Regions from separate parts of the Homo sapiens genome. Here region 1 is linked to region 2. The links are contacts of gene promoters, found by promoter capture Hi-C in blood cells and fetal thymus (Javierre and others, 2016). All regions are on one chromosome and are shown on one strand. Each heading gives the region's core, a stretch centred on a gene start or on the middle of the fragment in contact. The rest is flanking DNA. Distances are from core to core; before and after follow the strand shown.

Evidence for each region. Contacts are between HindIII fragments. The CHiCAGO score rates a contact against its expected background, and 5 or more counts as called.
Region 1: a contact is called between a fragment that was not itself captured here and the fragment with the promoter of GRHL1 in region 2, in 3 of 17 cell types (monocytes, non-activated CD4 T cells and activated CD4 T cells). The highest score is 6.4, in monocytes.

Annotation. Positions count from the first base shown.
Region 1 is chr2:10,436,245-10,439,463 of GRCh38, reverse strand. No RefSeq gene overlaps it. Among named protein-coding and RNA genes, the nearest start is that of SNORA80B, 9.0 kb to the left of the region's middle. The HindIII fragment of the contact is 5,238 bases long and covers 1-3,219 here.
Region 2 is chr2:9,949,854-9,952,942 of GRCh38, reverse strand. GRHL1 (grainyhead like transcription factor 1) reads right to left here and starts at 1,250. Exons shown (of 16, transcript NM_198182.3): 1 at 1,090-1,250. The coding sequence starts at 1,109. LOC105373422 (a long non-coding RNA gene) reads left to right here and starts at 2,090. Exons shown (of 3, transcript XR_922784.4): 1 at 2,090-2,238. RefSeq lists silencers at 960-1,499, 1,590-1,639, 1,740-1,789, 1,940-2,019. The HindIII fragment of the contact is 14,804 bases long and covers 1-3,089 here.

The sequences.
Region 1 (3,219 bases), core at 404-2,903, 490 kb before region 2:
GACTGGAGGGGGAGGGCGGGAAGGAGTGCTGTAGTCCACAGCCCTACCTTCCGGGAGCCTGAGAAGTAGGATGCTGGTGTGTTTGGGTAACTCTGAGCTCCCCAACAAGGGCAGTTCCCTGGGATCCGGGACCCACTATGTTAAGAGAGTTGGCACTGAGTATGTACTGTGTGCCAAGAAATTTGAGCTAGACACCAAGCCTAGAATCTTGGTAAATTAGGTCTTCCATCTTAAAAAGGAAGAAATTCCCGAGATCGCTTAGTGGCAGTGGTGAGCTTGGACTGAAAAGGGGGGTATTCCACTCAAAATCAACTAAGGCTTTGGAAACAATGCTCTTTCAGCCAGTTAGGGAAAATGTAATCCAACAACGGTCAGTAGTGCCAGTGGGGACAGAAACAGCCGCAGGTAATCCCGTGCTACACGTGAGTGGCCCCTGAAACCTCGCTTCTGACCACAGCTTGGCGTAGCCACTTACAGGCCCCAACAAAGCCAGACTTGGGTCTGTGAAATGATGTGGCCAGGCTTGATCAAGTGATCTTCCTTGGCCCTTGTACATGGGAGCAGGCAGGCGAATTTGGCAGGAGAGACCAGAGAACGAGGACAGCCAGACGGTAGCCGGGGCTGTGTCGACACCAGGCACCGTCCTCCAGGAGGCTTAAGTCCTGCTTTGCATTTGGGTATCTCCACGTCATTTTTAAAGATGGTGCTGTCTGGTCGTGCACAGATACTGGGCATTTCTAGACTCGTGACTTGAAGTGAATACAGCTCCACCAAGACCACTTGTGAATTTCTTCCTGGCGTGCTGGCCCCCGGGAGAGGGGATTCAGGGGAATTGAACTATTGGGCAAAGGTAAAGGCAGCCAGAGTGCATTAGAATCACTTAGGGTGCTTCTTAAAAATACTCATTATTGCCCCCTGACCACTTTCCCCAGACTCTGGGGATGGAGTAGTGTTGGAGCAACTGGAGAACCATCTGGAAGACATAAAAGTATCCCCAACTCCTGCTCCAAAATACATTCCAGATAGATGAAAGTTTTAAATATAACAGATTAGACCATAAACCTACTGGAAACAAAGTCAAAAGGCAAGGGACCAACGGCTACAATGCCCGTGAAAAGGACTAATTTTCTTCATATTAAAAACAACAAATCAATAAAGTAACTATGCAATAGAAAGTGGGCAAGGCATAAACTTGGCTCACAGTAAAGTTTTTTTTTTTTTGGTAGGCAGAGTCTCACTCTCACCCAGGCTGGAATGCAGTGGCACCATCTCAGCTCACTGTAACCTCTGTCTCCCGGGTTCAAACGATTCTTCTGCCTCAGCCCCCTGAGTAGCTAGGACTACAGGTGCATGCCACCACACCGGGCTAATTTTTGTATTTGTAGTAGAGACGGTTTCACCATGTTGGCCAGGCTGGCCTTGAACTCCTGGTCTCAAGTGATCCACCCGTCTCTGCCTCCCAAAGTGCAGGGATTATAAGCATGAGCCACCACGCCCAGCCAACAGTAAACTTTTTGAACATGAAGACATTTGTCAACCAAAGGAAACACACAGTAAAACTATGAGAATCTATTTCTCACCTATCAGATTGGCAAAGACAAGAGTTCCCCAGCTCGCGGGGTGAGCAGGTGTGCTCAAGCACTGGGCGGAAAAGTAAATTAGAGCAACAGTCTCTTTGGAGGGAACTTGATAATATCAATAATCCACATTATCTTTGACCCAGCAGTTCTAAGAATTTCTCTGATGATACTCTTCTAAAATTATTCATTGTGGCATCATTTGTAAACAATCTCTTGTACACAAGCAGGTACTGATGAAATTGTCAATGGAACGGGATATACAGTGGTTAAGGAATGAAGCAGATTCATCAGTACTGATAAGGAACAAGCTCCAAGCTAGATTCAGTGAGGATAGCAAAGCAAGGGGCACGTGTAGTATGCTACTGTGTGTGTAAAAAGCAAAATCAAACCCCAACAAACTGTGTGTGTACATACATACTTGCATATGCATGGCATATTTCTGGAAGAGCTTGTAAGAAACGGGTAACAGAGGTTGCCTCTAGGCAGAAGAACCAGAGGCCTGGGCCGAGAGTGGGGACTGGCTCCACACTGCGCTTTTGATATTGGAATGTATTACTGACTTTACGAGGATTGTAAAATAGGTTTCCCGCGTGAAGACATAAACTCAGAGATGAACTCAAGTCACGCAGATAGTGAGGCAGCATTCAAGCCAGGTCAGAGGACCCCAGCATTCATTCGGTGTTTCCCTACCCTGGGAACATGCTGTTAAGCAGCTGGAGGGTGGCTTGGGCAGTGGACTGGCTCAGGGGGACATGGTAGAGTTGCTCACGACCTGGTCCTCACCTTTGCAGGGTCCAGGAGGGCTGGCTCATGCCAACCCAGCTCATGAGGCCGACGAAGGCAGCAGACCCATCAGAAGCCAAAGATGGGAACATTCCTGGCACATCAGCAGGTGGTCAACCCCTCCCTCCCCGACAGTGTCAGGGCCAGGCACTGCCCCTCACAGATAGCCTGCAGCAACCAAGGGCAGGCCAGAAGCCGGTGGGCAGAGCAAGCCACGTGTGCCCCCTGCGGCCCTCTTGAGCCCTGGCTGATGCCCACTTTGCACTTTCTCGTGGGTAGGGCCTGCCCCTTCCCGGGCCTCACTCGGCTTGTCTTGTGAAGTCATGTGCTCGTCACACCCCAGCAGTGACCTCTGCTACTGGGACCACACATCTCTTCGCAGGTTCCCTCCTTACTAGATTTTCCTAAGTGACTCGAAGTGGCTGGCTAGCCCCTTCCGCTTAGGGGGTTTTCTGGCTGTCACCCTGTACCCTCTTTGACATGGGCCCTCCCCCATGCTGGATCTGGGGGTTTGCTTTGCACCATCTCTGGGCCCGGCTGGAAAACTGCCCCTGAAGGCAAGAGTCGACCCATTTCAAATCGGGCTCTGTCCCCACCAGGGATTCCCGAGAAGCCTCAGTGCCTGGGGGTGAGGGGGGCAAGTGGGGGGCTCTGCCTTCTCCGCCTCACCCAATCTCACCCATCGGGTTTCAAGGTAGGACGTCATGTGAAGCAAAGGCTTTGCAGAGTTCTCCCAGTTCTTGTTTTTTACAGATGGGATGAAGCCCAGAGAGGCCAAGTGACTCGTCCAAGGCGAGTCTGTAAGTTAGAAGGAGGGCCTGGGTGTCCTCAGGGCCCTGCCTCGCCAGCCAGCTTC
Region 2 (3,089 bases), core at 1-2,500:
TGAAATATGTTTCAGGCAATAATTTAACTGCATATTCTACAACATAAGAGTAATCCATTTAAGATACTCCATACAAAATATCTATCTCATCCAGAAAAAGAACACACTGACAAAAACCGATCCTTCACAAATAACTAAGAAACTGGGAGGGGTACCTATCTGCCTTAAACTTCCTGATCTGAAATATACTGACTGGCCTGGTGCGATTTCCCTGTTTTTTCTTTAGTAAGTTTTTAAAATTTTTAGGACAATTTTATATTTTCAGAAAAGCTGCAAAGAAAATACAGAAAACTCCCTCGCCCAGTTAATCCCCCATGCCTTATTACACTACCACCTCACATTTGTCGAAATACGCTTTTAAATCACACACTCTAAAAAGCATATTAGCTTGTACAGTACTTTCTCGTTTAACACCCGGATTTCAAAGTTTCATCCTCTTGATTCTCTCGAGCACTAAAAACACGGTAATCTGTAATTACCATCAATGATGCAAGTGGCAAAATAACTCCTACAGCCGTTTTCCCACTCATGCCGCCAGCCAGGGAAAAGAAAACGCCCGGACATCGGGGCACTTCAACCTTTCCCTACATTTCTGTTTTGGAGGTTCCAGCAGGTCGCCGAGTGACGAGCCTGAGACCACAGATTACCTGGAGAAGTCCACCTGTCCCGACGCGGCGCGAGCCCCACCAGGCTCCCGAGGCCGACCGGGCAGGAGAGGGGGGCGGGGAGGCCCGGGGGCGTTGGCTGCGCCCCGACCTCGCGCCGCACCCGACCGCGCCGGGGGCCCGGACCCCAAGGTGCGCGCCCGAGGGGACCCAACCTGGCCGCGGAGGAGGGGAGGAGGGTGGCCCCTCCGGTGTCGAGTTTCCCCGAGGACAGGGTCTCTCCTCCCGAGGCTCCGACCGAACAAAGAGCACGGCAGGGCTAAGGGGCAAAGGCCGTGGCGGCGTGGAGTGGACAGCGGCCCCCGGCTCGCGCCCCGCGCCCGCCCGCCCGCGCGGCCTCGGGTCTGCGCCCGGCTCGCTCGCTGCAGGTGCGGCCCCTCAGCGCGGCCCCCCCGCGGCGGCCGGACTCCTGCGCCTCACTCACTTGTCGTACTCCTGTGTCATCGCGCCCGCTCGCCGCTGCCGGGCCGCAGAACTGGACTTTCGGGTTGGGACAGTACACCCGATCCGGGGGGAGGAGGCGGCGGCGGCGGCTGCGGGTCCGGAGCGGCGGCCCCGACGGGTTGGGTTTGCTTTTCTCGCTCTGAGCCGGCTCCGCGCGGGCTGCGCGCACTGGGCGCCGGGCTCGGCCGCTCATTGGCTGGCGATGCGCCGGCTGGGGGCGAGGCCTCGGGGCTGGGAGGCCGGTCGCGCCTCCTGATTGGTCGGCGAGAAGAGCGCCGGGGCGGGGCTGACGGGGACGAGCGGCGCGGGGCGGGGGGCGGGGGCCGCGCGTTCCGCGAGGTTGCGCCCGGGACTGCGCTCCCGGGGCTGCGCGCCCGACTCGCGGCCGTACGCGCCTGCCCTGACAGGAGAGGGAGCGCTGCGGCTGCGGCGCGCACCCGCCAACCTCCGCGCGCACCGAGAGCGCCCCCGCTCGCGCCCCGCCACCGCCCCCGCCGCCCCCGCCGTCCCCGCCGTCCCCGGCCATCCCCTTCGCGACGAGCCCCGGCCGTACAGCCGCCTCCTTCTTCGCTCACTCAGGCCTCCGCGCCCCGTGCCCACATTGCCCGCTGTTCCGGCCCCAGCGCCCCGCGCTGCCCCTGCGCTCGCCCGGCGGGGGCGCCTCTGCCGGTCGCCGCGCTCCCCGGTCGCGCGTCTCACCTCTCGGTTCTCGCAGGCTGTCACGCCCGAGTCCCGTGGCTTCCCCCGAGAGCCGTCTCCGGAATGTCCCTTCTCCTGGCCCACCGCGGCCGCGCGCTTTTAGGATTTCTTGCCCTCGCAGCTCCCGCGGTCCCCTCGGCGGCAGTCCCTGGGGCTCCGCGATGTCTGTGCCCCGCAGCCTCCCGGGCGCCACTTCCCCGCGCGGCCGCCCCACGCTGCCCGTGCAGTCGCGCGCCCCGGGCCGGCCCCGGGCACCACTCCACCGCGACGGCCCCCACTTGTCCTTCCCGAGCTGCCGTCTTTCCCAGGGTCCGCTCACTGAGTCCCCACATGCCCAGCGTCGGACCTGACCCTCGGACAGGCGCGGCCCCAGACGCCGGGGACAGGGCAGTCAACAGAACAGACACAACTCCTCGCCTTCCTAGTTGGGGTAACGGGCAATACAAAAACAAGTAAATGGTGTGGCTGGTTGGAAGGTAAAGCAGGCAGGCCCTGGGGAGGCGGGGAGGAGCGAGGCTTTCAGGCTTGAAGGAGATGAGGGGCCACGAAGGTGGGACTGTACCTGAGGCAGGGACCCTGGTGTGTTTTGTGACCCTTGAGGAGACCCGGGTGGCTGGTGGGGCACAGGGAGGCGGGAGCTGCGGTCAGAGATAGTGGGCGCAGGGGAGCGGATTGAGCAGGGCCTTGCCGGCTTCCGTAAGGACTGTGGCTTTCCCTCTGGGCTAGGTGGGGACGCCTTGGAGGGGCTTGGAGCAGGGTAGTGACAGGGTCTCACATTTTAAAATAGTTCTCTGCTGCTGCGTGGTGGGGACCAGGTAGGAGGCCATTGCCATGATGCAGGCCGAGGGCAATAGAGTGAGGTGGTGGGAAGTGGCCGAATTCTGGATATGCTTTGAAGGTGGGACCAGCAGGATTGTCTGAAAATTGGATATGGGGTGTGAGAGAAAGAGAGAATCAAGGATGACTACAGCGTTTCCAGCTGGGCAACTGGAGGAATGATTTGCCATCCCCTGGGATACAGAAGACCTGGGGCATAGAAGATTTGGGGGAGAACGAGAGTCTGTTTTGGACGTGCTAAGCTCAAGATGTATGGGAGATAAAAATCCATGAATCAGGTGGGCTCCTGGGTACGAGGCTGGAGTGCAAGGGAGAAGTCTGGGCTGAAGCTCACATCTGGGCGCCGCCCACGTCTAGAGGCCATTTAAAGCCATGAGAAGGCAGGAAGGAAAGAGGATGGGACCCATGCTGGATCCAGGAGCCTCCGACACAGAAAGGCTGGGA